Regions from separate parts of the Homo sapiens genome. Here all the other regions are linked to region 1. Evidence: promoter capture Hi-C in 16 types of primary human blood cells and fetal thymus (Javierre and others, 2016). All regions are on one chromosome and are shown on one strand. The core of a region is centred on a gene start or on the middle of the fragment in contact, and the rest is flanking DNA. Distances in the headings are between cores, read along the strand shown. Region 1 holds the start of KLF14 (KLF transcription factor 14). Region 2 has its middle 18 kb from the start of LINC03008. Region 3 overlaps TMEM209 (transmembrane protein 209). Region 4 overlaps SSMEM1 (serine rich single-pass membrane protein 1).

The links. Contacts are between HindIII fragments. The CHiCAGO score rates a contact against its expected background, and 5 or more counts as called.
Region 2: a fragment that was not itself captured here is called in contact with the fragment with the promoter of KLF14 in region 1 in 2 of 17 cell types (megakaryocytes and erythroblasts); the score reaches 6.7 in megakaryocytes.
Region 3: a contact is called between a fragment that was not itself captured here and the fragment with the promoter of KLF14 in region 1, in 9 of 17 cell types (megakaryocytes, erythroblasts, total CD8 T cells and 6 more). The highest score is 9.8, in megakaryocytes.
Region 4: a contact is called between a fragment that was not itself captured here and the fragment with the promoter of KLF14 in region 1, in 15 of 17 cell types (megakaryocytes, endothelial precursors, M1 macrophages and 12 more). The highest score is 17.3, in megakaryocytes.

Annotation. Positions count from the first base shown.
Region 1 is chr7:130,732,766-130,735,721 of GRCh38, reverse strand. KLF14 (KLF transcription factor 14) reads left to right here and starts at 1,515. Exons shown (of 1, transcript NM_138693.4): 1 at 1,515-2,956. The coding sequence starts at 1,689. The coding sequence ends at 2,660. It overlaps LOC105375508 (a long non-coding RNA gene), which reads right to left and starts at 1,458. Exons shown (of 4, transcript XR_927978.3): 1 at 1,340-1,458. RefSeq lists silencers at 1,702-1,781, 1,852-2,011 and an enhancer at 1,907-2,444. The HindIII fragment of the contact is 4,510 bases long and covers 463-2,956 here.
Region 2 is chr7:130,158,569-130,161,524 of GRCh38, reverse strand. No RefSeq gene overlaps it. Among named protein-coding and RNA genes, the nearest start is that of LINC03008, 18 kb to the right of the region's middle. The HindIII fragment of the contact is 9,270 bases long and covers 1-2,956 here.
Region 3 is chr7:130,176,421-130,179,376 of GRCh38, reverse strand. It overlaps TMEM209 (transmembrane protein 209), which reads left to right. Exons shown (of 15, transcript NM_032842.4): 10 at 850-975. Among named protein-coding and RNA genes, the nearest start is that of TMEM209, 28 kb to the left of the region's middle. The HindIII fragment of the contact is 2,699 bases long and covers 243-2,941 here.
Region 4 is chr7:130,208,751-130,211,706 of GRCh38, reverse strand. All of the region lies in intron 1 of SSMEM1 (serine rich single-pass membrane protein 1), which reads right to left. Among named protein-coding and RNA genes, the nearest start is that of SSMEM1, 2.4 kb to the right of the region's middle. The HindIII fragment of the contact is 3,567 bases long and covers 1-2,956 here.

The DNA of each region.
Region 1 (2,956 bases), core at 266-2,765:
AATGAATAAAGTAGATTCTATAGGTGTCAACCTGGATAGCTGTCAAAATCATATTGAGGGAAAGAAGTTGCAAAATGATATGTATACTAGTGAACCATTTACTTAAAAATTTTAATAAATAAGCATGGAGATATACATATATTTACATGTATAATTAGGTAATACGGGTATCAAAACAAATGCAGATTAAATAGCCACTTTATAATACTAATTACCTAGAAAAGTGAAGAGGGAGAAAGGTGAATGGAACTGGGGAGGGAAACAAAGTGACATTCAACTCTATCTGTAATGTTTAATATAAATAAAAACATGAAACAACTATAACAAAAATTTCACATTTGATTACCCTAGGCAGTAAATACATGAACGTATGTTATTCTTGATACATACGTATTAATTTTCAAAAGAAAAAGTACTGAAGAACTACAAATAAAATGCACACAATTCACTCATATAAAAGCTTGTATACATCAAAAACTAAGATATGACTATTTTTAGAAATTATCCTGTTTGTTTTTCTATGTAGTTTTACATTTTTAAAAAGAAAAACGAGGGAAAAAATGAGAGCAATGAAGACACGTAAAAGAAACCGTACATGCATTTGATTATAAAAAAGGCAAACCTCCACAATCACAAAACACCATATGAGCATTCTATATCATGTGCTGCATTTCCTTACATTTAACTTTCGTCAAAAGCAAATTACAAGATAATGCCTAATTGGAAACGTGACTTTCTATTATTAAAATGGTGGGAGTCCATTTTAATGTGTTTATCTCGCCGCTAGACTATAATTTATATCTCAGCGTTTAAATTTGTTTGGATGCCAGTGACAGGTTAATGCAGTTTAAACATGCATTTTTCTTTCGTTGGCTGAATAGTTAAATCGTTACTCAAAGGATTTTAAGTTTCAATTTCAACCGGGAGAGGATTCTTTGCTTTTCCAAGGTTAAAACTGTTTCTGGTTCGAGATGCTATTAATTAATGGCTACGTAGCGGATCTATTTAGGGAACTGCTCCCGGCCCCGGGTTCACAGTTGACCTGCTCAATGAGAAAACTTTTTTTGCTACAGACTTGGGGATATTTGCAATTTAGTCTGAGAGCGGCGAACGGGGAGTGAAATGGAATTCGAGACCACTTCGCTAACAATCGCAATTATGAACCGAAAGACATGTCAGGTATTAGCAATTTTTTTCCTTAAAAAAAAAAAAAACTTTCTGGGACTCCGCGGGACACCCAGCTGGCGACGGACCAGCGGGCGGCGGGCTGCGGGGAGGGGGGGCGAGGCTGCTGCAACCCAGAAGTTCCGACTGGGGAGTTTCGCTCTGTTACCATTACCTGGCTCGCCGGCAGAAGAAAGAACGCGGAGACAAGATAATTTCTGAGGCTGTTAAACATGACTTAGCCGGGGGCCGCGCGTTCCGAGGGGGTGTCCTGCGGGCCGGGGCGGGTCTCTGCCGCCCCCGCGGGCTCCGGTGCGTCAGGGGCGCGTCAGGCGGGGCGGGCTCCGCGCGGGCGGCGGCGGCAGCGGCGGCTGCGGCGGCGGCGGCGGCAGCAGGCGGCAGGCGGCGAGCACCCGGCCTCCTGCTTCTCGCTCCGAGGCTGCGGGACGGACGCTCCCGGGAACTCCGTCGCCCGCGGCCGGCCGCGTTCGGACGGCGCTCGCCGGCGGCCGGGCGGTCCCAGCATGTCGGCCGCCGTGGCGTGCCTGGACTACTTCGCCGCCGAGTGCCTGGTGTCCATGTCCGCGGGCGCCGTGGTTCACCGCCGCCCGCCGGACCCCGAGGGCGCGGGTGGAGCCGCTGGCTCGGAGGTGGGTGCGGCGCCGCCGGAGTCCGCTCTGCCGGGTCCGGGGCCACCGGGGCCCGCGTCGGTCCCCCAGCTCCCGCAGGTCCCCGCCCCCAGCCCCGGCGCGGGCGGCGCCGCGCCCCACCTGCTGGCTGCAAGCGTCTGGGCGGACTTGCGCGGCAGCTCTGGCGAGGGCTCCTGGGAGAACTCGGGGGAAGCTCCACGCGCCTCGTCCGGCTTCTCCGACCCGATCCCGTGCTCCGTCCAGACCCCGTGCTCCGAGCTGGCTCCCGCCTCCGGCGCCGCGGCGGTCTGCGCTCCCGAGAGCTCCTCCGATGCGCCCGCCGTCCCAAGCGCGCCTGCTGCCCCGGGCGCACCAGCAGCCTCTGGTGGGTTCTCTGGAGGGGCCCTAGGGGCAGGCCCCGCCCCCGCCGCGGATCAGGCGCCCCGGAGGAGGTCTGTCACACCTGCTGCCAAGCGCCACCAATGCCCCTTCCCGGGCTGCACCAAAGCCTATTACAAGTCGTCGCACCTCAAGTCCCACCAGCGCACCCACACGGGTGAGCGCCCTTTCTCCTGCGACTGGCTCGACTGCGACAAGAAGTTTACGCGTTCCGACGAGCTGGCCCGCCACTACAGGACGCACACGGGCGAGAAGCGCTTCTCCTGCCCCCTCTGCCCCAAGCAGTTCTCCCGGAGCGACCACCTGACCAAGCATGCTCGCCGCCACCCAACCTATCATCCAGATATGATCGAGTACCGGGGACGTCGTCGAACTCCCCGCATCGACCCGCCACTCACCAGCGAGGTGGAAAGCTCCGCCTCCGGCTCCGGTCCCGGCCCGGCGCCCAGCTTCACCACCTGCCTGTAGGACAGTCATTGCTGTCAGTCTTACCCTCAAGGATGATCCCCCAGGCCGTTGTCCCTGCTTTCTCTCTGCCCATCCTTCTTTCCCAGAGTCATTACACCAAGGCACAGACTGGTTCCTCTGCTCTGAGGGTGGGTCCAGGCAGACATGTGGACTCTGGGGAGGTACTGGGGGCCGGAAAATAGCGGGAATTCTTGCAACGTGTATATCATCCTAAAAGTGGGGGTTGCCTCAAGACAGCCCCCAGGAACTGATAAGAAGGGATGAACTCCCGTACTCTCCAGAGTACTGAAGATTCT
Region 2 (2,956 bases), core at 262-2,761, 570 kb after region 1:
TTACAGATGCCTGCCACCACACCCAGCTAATTTTGTATTTTTTAATAGAGATGGGGTTTCACCATGTTGGCCAGGCTGGTCTCGAACTCCTAACCTCAAGCGATCCACGTGCTGCGATTATAAGCATGGGCCACCGCACCCAGCCCTACACTGATTTCTGATAAAATAAAATGGGCTGGATGTGGTGGTTCACGCCTGTAATCCCAGCACTTTGGGAGGCTGAGGCAGGAGGATCACTTGAGCTCAGGTGTTGGAGACCAGCCTGGGCAACATAGTGAGACCCTGTCTCTAAAAAAAATAATAAGTGATAAGATACTCTTCATACCTAGAGGTAATTGAGAAGCTCAAAGTGAAAATAATGAATGGACTGCTTTTAGGTGAAGGAAAAAAGAGCAAATTCATATAAAAGTAGGAAGTGGCCCCTTTGGCACTGTAAAGCAACTGTCTCGTCCTTGGATCACACTGAGCTACAGATCTTCAAGGCCTTGACACCCACCCACCCCAACTGTGCTAGCCCAGCTTTGTCTGCCTCCTGCTCCCTCTGTCCTTCCCTTCCCGAGACCTGGCCATTCATTGCCCCGTCATAGACAGTAGCACCCTTGTAGCCTGAAGGCTGGGCTTTCTGGTGTACCAAGAAAACACAGTCTCCTTCCTTTCCCATTTCTAAACTTGAAGGAAAAAATAACAATCCCGAATCAGACTCTGCTTTCATGCACTGCATCCCATAGGAGGAAAGTTAGAAGGTGGTGATCAGCTCCACTGGGGGCAAAACTTGTTTTCTCAGGAGCAGCAGCCAGGCATGATTCTTTCTCAAACACATGGTGTGGAGACTGGAATCAGGCAGCTCTGTGATAGTTTTGGCCCAGAATACAGGCACCAGCTTAATGAGCTCCACCTCCGAAGAAAGGCCCCTTGTGTTCCTAGTGGGGAGGAGTGTCATCCACGGTACAGCCTGAGGAGTCCCCTGACTCGGGAAAGACTTGGCAGACGGAAATCTGAACCTAAGCTGCCAGGCCGCAAACCTGGCGGTTTGAGAAGGTGTTACGTGGCTTCCATCTCAAAATTAAATTCCGTATGACACTCTGCTTCCAGTTGAATGGTCTGCGTGAATTCTTTAAACAAAGCACCCCAAAACCACAATAACCATTTAGTACCTCTCTCCCTGGACCAGAAATTCAGACAGGACTCAGTGGGGACAGCTCCTGTCTGTCAGCTCCACAATGTCTGCAGGTTTACATGTCTGGCAGTTGATGCTAGCTACTGACTAGGAGCCTAACTGGAGATACTGGCAGAACACCCACGCTTGGCCTCCACACAGGGCCTGGGCTTCCTCATAACATGGTGGCTGAGTTCCTAGGGCCAGTGTCATGAGAAAGTGAGAGAGAGAGAGGCAGAAGCATATTGCCTTTTATTTATAACTTAGCTTTGGAAGTACCATGTTTCTTCACTGCATTCTGTTGGTCAAGGCAGCTACAAAGAACTGCTCAGTGTCAAGGGGAAGGAACACAGACCCCTACCACTCAATGGAGGAATGTGCCACATTACAGCACGTCAGATGGAACATTTATTGGTGTGACCATTTTTGGAAAATACAATCTGCCATAATGTACAGTGCCAAAAAAAATTAATGCTCTTTGTCTCATTGACCTCAGGAAAATTTACCTTAGGAAAATATTCAACAGAAAAAAATAGTTATGCCTAAAGGTGTCCGTCGTGAGTGCTTATTCATTTATTTACCCATACATCCAATAATTTTTTTTTTTTGAGACAGAGTCTCGCTCTGTTGCCCAGACTGGAGTGCAGTGGCACAATTTCTGCTCACTACAACTTCTGCCTCCTCGGTTCAAGTGATTCTCGTGTCTCAGCCTCCGGAATAGCTGGGATTACAGGCGCCTGCCACCACACCCAGTCAATCCAATAAATACTGATTGAAGTATTTTGCCAGATGCTAGGAATACAAAGAAAACGTAAGATCTATCCTTCTTTCTTTCAAATAGCTTCCAGTCTATGATAGCTAAAAATAAAACCCATCCAAATGTCCAGTAATAAGATGGTTTAATAAATTCTATGTAGACCAGGCAGGGTGGCTCACACCTGTAATCCCAGCACTTTGGGAGGCCAAGGCGGGTGGATCACCTGAGGTCAGGAGTTCGAGACCAGCCTGGCTAATATGGTGAAACCCCATCTCTACTAAAAATACAAAAATTAGCCGAGTGTGGTAGTGCACGCCTCTAATCCCAGCTACTCGGGAAGCTGAGGCAGGAGAATCGCTTGAACCCAGGAGGCAGAGGTTGCAGTGAGCCAAGATCGCACCATTACACTCCAGCCTGGACAACAAGAGTGAAACTCCGTCTCAAAAAATAATAATAAATTATATGTAAACTCTAGGAGATACGATCTTGAGATGTTATCACTTAAGGATTTTTATTTTGACCTCTTTTTAAAACTCTCTGCAGCTCTGAAAAGACTATTTGGAAAGATGGGGAAATGTTGGATAGAAGTGAAAACAAATCAAAGTTGTATGTCTACTGTGATTACAATTATGTAAAAATATGCATGCATATCACCAAGGACTAGAAGAGAATATCCAAATGTGAACTCACTTGTTGAAGTGGGAATATGCATGATTGTCCTTACGTTTTCTTCTCTTTTCTTTTTTTTTGAAGTATTTTTCAATGTTATATTGCTTTTGTAATTGAAAAACTCCAGAAAAAATATTGTGGTGCAAATTAAATTGTATAGGTCAAAGGGAGAGAAAGTACTGCTCGGTGGGAAGCTGACAGGAGAGACTTCATTAAAAAGGTGACATTTGGGCCAGGTGCAGTGGTGGCAAACACCTATAATCCCAGCACTTTGGGAGGCCTGAAGTTAGGAGTTTGAAACCAGCCTGGCCAGCCAACAAGGTGAAATCCCGTCTCTACTAAAAAGACAAAAAAATTAGCTGGGCACAGTGGCT
Region 3 (2,956 bases), core at 343-2,842, 560 kb after region 1:
GATTTGCCAAAATCGATTTGGCTGCTTCTCTGGGGAAGGGGAGGAGGGGGTGTTGCATGTGTAAATCTGGCTATCTTGCTGGGAATGGTTCTAGGTAATGTAGATCGTGCAAATTAAAATGCTTTCTTTCATTTATTCCTTCGACATTGAGTGCCTAGTCTGTTCCAGGTGTTAATACTATTCTGGGCACTGGGGGATACAGCAGTGAGCAAAATGGCCAAAGTCCCTGCCTTCATTAAGCTTTCATTCTAGTAAATGAGATAGACAATAAAAAAGATAAAGTACTTTGGGCCAGGCACGATGGCTAACACCTGTGATCTCAACACTTGGGGAGTCCAGCGTTGGTGGATTGCTTGAACCCAGGAGTTTGAGACCAGCCTAGGCAATATAGTGAGACCTTGTCTCTACTAAATAGAAAAAAAGAAAAAAAGTGAACCAGGTGTGGTGGCATGTGCCTGTAGTCCCAGCTGCTTAGGAGGCTGAGGTGGGAGGAGGATTGCTTGAGCCCATTCGATTGAGGCTGCAGTGAGTGGTGATTGTGCCGCTATACTCCAGCGTGGGTGACAGAGCAAGACACTGTCTCAAAAAACAAAAAGAGAAGAAGAAAAAAAGTACATTGGACAGTGGTTAGTGCTAAGGAGGAAAAAAGCACAGGAGGGTAATGTTATTAATGTTTAGAGAGGAGGGGTGAAATTTGAGGTAGGGTCGTCAGGGGAGACGTCATTGACTTGTATGAAGACCTGAAGGTAGTGAGGAACCAGCTGTATGAACACATGAGAAGAGCATTTTAAGTTCTTTTGGAAACTCACTTTTAGAATAATCAGTGTTCTCTGTGTTTTATGTTAACAGAGGCTAGTATTACTAGCTTGAAACAAGCTGCCCTGGTTAAAGCGCCTCTCATTCCGACTTTGAACACAATCGTTCAGTATCTAGACCTTACTCCAAATCAGGAATACTTGTTTGAAAGGATCAAAGGTAATTATTGATTTGAAGAGAAAAAAATAAGAGCTTTTTTACTATGCTGGAATTTTATCAGTGAAGATTAACAAGGAAAAACTTTTAATTAAAAGTATAACATGTCTTATAAATACGTATTAATTATAGCTTAATAACTTTATTTTGTGTAGGAAACTTAAATATGAGCTAAATGGGCTCCAGTGACTATTTCACTCATTTCCTACTTTTAGACTCATAAGAATGGGTGCCATTATGACATTCTTTATAGTTCCGGTGTGCTGAGCCTTATTTCTCTTAATTTTTATAATTCCTATTTAATAAGTTTCTTCCTTATATTTCTGTGATATTCTTATTATTTGGTGGAAGATGTGCTCTCCTGAGGAGACTGACTTGAGAATCAGGAAATGTAGGCTCCCTGACACCCCCATACACCCTCTGTGCCTCTCTACTTACAGAGCAATTCATAACGTTAGAATTTTTTAAAATTTGGATAAACTTTTTAAAAGATTCTCATCACTAAGACAAGTTTTAGAAATAGTATTCAAATTGATCATAAATCTTAATTTGAAAATATTATAGTGTTCTCCCTTTCCCCTAAGGTTAGAGCAGGATTCAGGAATAAACATTTTTCATGACTTTTTAAAACATTTTATATAAGGAGAATTTTAAACATACACAAAACTAGAAAAAATAGTATACACACTCCTCTTGTACACATCACCCAGCCTCAACAATCACTAGTCCCTGGCCAGACCCTGCCCTATCCATACCCCGTCCACTTTCTTCCTGTATTGTTTGAAGCAAGCCCTCATGTCATTATCAGTTCATCTGTAAATATTTCTTTGTATATCACTAAAAGATAAGCCTCCCGCGACCCCCTGCTTTTGAGAAAGGGTCTTGCTATGTTGCCTAGGCTGGTCTCCAACTCCTAGGCTCAAGCAGTCCTCCCACCTCAGCCTCCCCAAGTGCCGTGATTATAGACATGAGCCACCGTGCCCAGCTGAGCCTTTAGAAAACTAATACAAACATACATAACCAGAATACAATTATCATTCTTTTTTTTTTTTTTTTGGAGACAGTCTCTCTCTGTCGCCAGGCTAGAGTGCAGTGGCGCAATCTTGGCTCACTGCAACCTCCACCTCCCGGGTTCAAGCGATTCTTCTGCCTCAGCCTCCTGAGTAGCTGGGATTACAGGCACACACCACCATGCCCAGCTAATTTTTGTGTTTTTAGTAGAGATGGGGTTTCACCATGTTGGTCAGGCTGGTCTCAAATTCCTGACCTCGTGATCCACCCACCTTGGCCTCCTAAAGTGCTGGGATTACAGGCGTGGGTCACTGCACCTGGCCACAATTATCATTCTTAATATAATTTTTTTTTTTTTTTTTTTTGAGACCCGGCTCGCTCTGTCACCCAGGCTGGAGTGCAGTAATGGCACTAGTGCAGGAGTGTATAGCTCCTTGCAGTCTTGAACTCCTGGCTATGGCAATCCTCCCTCCTCAGCCTCCCAAAGTGCTGGGATTATAGGAGTGAGCCACCATGCTACCTGGCCCTAATATTTCCTGTGTTATGAGATATTAAGTCTGTGTTCAAATTTCCAGCTATCTCATAAAAATGCATAATTTTTTGGCAATGTTTGTTTGAATTGGGATTCAAATATTGTAATACATTGCAATTGGTTATTTCAGTTTATTTTAAGCTATATGCTTCCCATTCACCTTTTTTTTTCCTTTGCAATTTATTTGTCAGAAGAACTGGATTGTTTGTCTTTAGTGGTTCCCATAGTGTGGGTTTTGCTGAATGCATCCCTATGGTGTAGTTTTACATAACCCCTTCTCTTTCCCATAAATTCATGTTTGAGTTTTTTGGCAAGATTGCCTTGTAGTTAGCAGGGTATTTGTACATCCAAAAAGAGAAAGTGTCTGTGTATGTACACATATATACAAAGTATATAAAGGTTTTATATCAAATATACAAAAAAGCTTTAAAGAATACAGTG
Region 4 (2,956 bases), core at 234-2,733, 520 kb after region 1:
TAATTTTTTCAAATTGTCTACAATTAGGAAAAAAATGAGTTTATGTGGAAGTCCAGTTTCTTTGGGATGAAAAGTGCCATAGTTCGGTATTTATAACTGCAATCTAAGATCCTCAGCTCATTCTTAATATCTGATCTCTGCAATGGTAGGCAAGCATCTTTAATGAGGTGCCTTTTTGTTTTCTGGGTTACAGCAATCATTCTCCAAAAATCTTGAAAGCGGAGTTCACTTTTAAGATACCACTTTCTGGCCAGACACGGTGGCTCATGCCTGTAATCCCAGCACTTTGGGAGGCTGAGGCGGGCAGATCACAAGGTCAGGAGATCGAGACCATCCTGGCTAACACGGTGAAACCCTGTCTCTACTTAAAATACAAAAAAAATTAGCCGGGTGTGGTGGTGGGTGCCTGTAGTCCCAGCTACTCAGGAGGCTGAGGCAGGAGAATGGTGTGAACCTGAGAGGCGGAGCTTGCAGTGAGCAGAGATTGCACCACTGCACTCCAGCTTGGGTGACAGCGAGACTCTGTCTCAAAAAAAAAAAAAAAAAGATACCACTTTATAAAAAATGCTTTTGGAAGAGGCTTAAATATTTTAAATTTAATATGTATCACTTAGGTTATAGAAAAGGAAAAAAATAAATTTAATATATGTAAAGAAAATCAAAATAATTGGAAGTTTATAAACCTAAAAGTTAACAGTAGTTGGTTATTTCTACATAATCTGGAGTGATTTTTATTTTATTTTGTCTTCTGCCCTATAATTTCCACATTTTCTATATAATGTGTACTTTTGTAATAGACAGGAGAAGGTATTTAAAAACACTTATTAGGCTTATATCATTTCCACAGAAAGCTCTCACATTTGATGTCAAATCAAAACATAGCCACAAAATCAAAAGAAAGATTTTGCATTAAACTAAGTGGGATCATATGAACTGTGGTTACGAAAAGCATTTTATTAACTGTCTTTGTGACTCAGTGAGTGAAAACAGCAGGAGTGCCTGCCCTGAGGGGCAGAGTAGAAAATGTGGGCCGTGGCTCTCTTTCTGCCACTAACAACTCTTGATTTTTCCAAGCCACTTAACACCTCTTAAGCTCAGTTTCCACATAAGCAAAATAAGGTGTTTGGATTACCATTGTCCAGAAAAATACCAGCACTAGCAATCTGAATAAACACAAAATAAAAATATAAACTAAATATAGTATTTATAGTCTGAAAGCAAAAGGGTAAATGCCACTTTAAAAAGTGGCAAATTCAGAGGAAATCAGCGTGCTTCATGTTGGAGGATAATTACCACCACATTTCCATCGTGCTTTTACCATTACTTCAAGGTTTGTAAATAAAGCCTCATAGTTTAGCAGAGAAAATGAAGAAGTTCAAAGTGAAGGAAAAATTCCATCCTCCTTTACTAGCTCTCATATTGTTCTCAGATTTCAAATCTGGGACCCTTCAGAAGAAGCAGTCTAGCTGATTGTAGCTGCCACAAGGGTACAAAGTGAAAAACGAAACCTCTAAAATAATTAAGGTTTTAATCAGGACTGAGTAGATCTAAGTGGACATTTCAAACTATGCTTTGAAGCAAACAAATAATTTGACAGGAAATCTGGGTATATTCCCCTTCTGTCACTAACACTTTTGTGACATTGGACAAGTCACTTAATTTACTTGGGGCTTATCAATAAAAAAATGAGTGGGGGAGGGATAATGATAACTTACTTGCCTACAAACAGAAGGCTGGACCACATGCTCTCTTGAGGTCCTGGAAGCTCAAGGCTGTATGACTCCCAAGAGCTGATGCAAGCAAGGGAGCAGAAAAAATAGCTTAGACTGGGCCAGGCGTGGTGGCTCACGCCTGTAATGCCAGCACTTTGGGAGGCCGAGGCGGGTGGATCACGAGGTCAGGAGTTCGACACCAGCCTGGCCAACATGGTGAAACTCCATCTCTACTAAAAATACAAAAATTAGCTGCGCGTGGAGATGCACGCCTATAATCCCAGCTACTCAGGAGGCTGAGGCAGGAGAATCACTGGAACCCAGGAGGCTGAGGTTGCAGTGAGCCAAGATCGTGCCATTGCACTCCAGCCTGGGCAACAGGGCGAGACTCCGTCTCAAAAAATAAAAATAAAAAAAATAGCTTAGACCTCTTAATTCATGATGAAATTTTTTTGGTAATTTTCTAAAGTAGCTTTGCTTGCCAGGCCAAATTCAATATACTTAGCTAGGGAGTCTAAGACACATATAAGCTATCATTATTCTAAATCTCCTTTTGGCAAAGTATTTACCTTAAGAAGCATTTAGACTTTAGATGAAAGTTCTTCACCAGGAGGTGGTGGTTATCAAAGAGTCTTTGATTAGAATGGAATCCAGCTGGCATGGACATAACAAACCTTCTCCACCCCATCCGAGCTCATAGAGCATTAAGTCTTACCACTGCCAGCCCAGGCCTATGGCTATAATGCTAAATGATGGTGGTTTTCTTAATCATCAGCCTGGTATTAATGGCCAGCAAGGATATCATGTCAGCAAATTATAAGAGCTTGGTTACGGCTGGGCGCGGTGGCTCATGCCTGTAATCCCAGCACTTTGGGAGGCCAAAGCGGGCAGACTACTTGAGGTCAGGAGTTTGAGACCAGCCTGGCCAACATGGTGAAACCCCATCTGTACTAAAAATACAGAAGTTAGCAGAGCGTGGTGGCTTGCGCCTGTGGTCCCAGCTACAAGGGAGGCTGAGGCAGGAGAGTCACTTGAATCCGGGAGGCGGAGGTTGTAGTGAGCCAAGATTGCACCACTTCACTCCAGCCTGGGTGACAGAGCAAGACTCCATCTCAAGAAAAAAAAAAAAGAGCTTGGTTACTCATAATATGTTGGAAGCATCACAGTCCTGATAAAGTGGGATATCTCATTCTTAAGACGATGGCATTTTAGTGGTGACTTTAGTTCTGTTTAGTCTAGTTCTG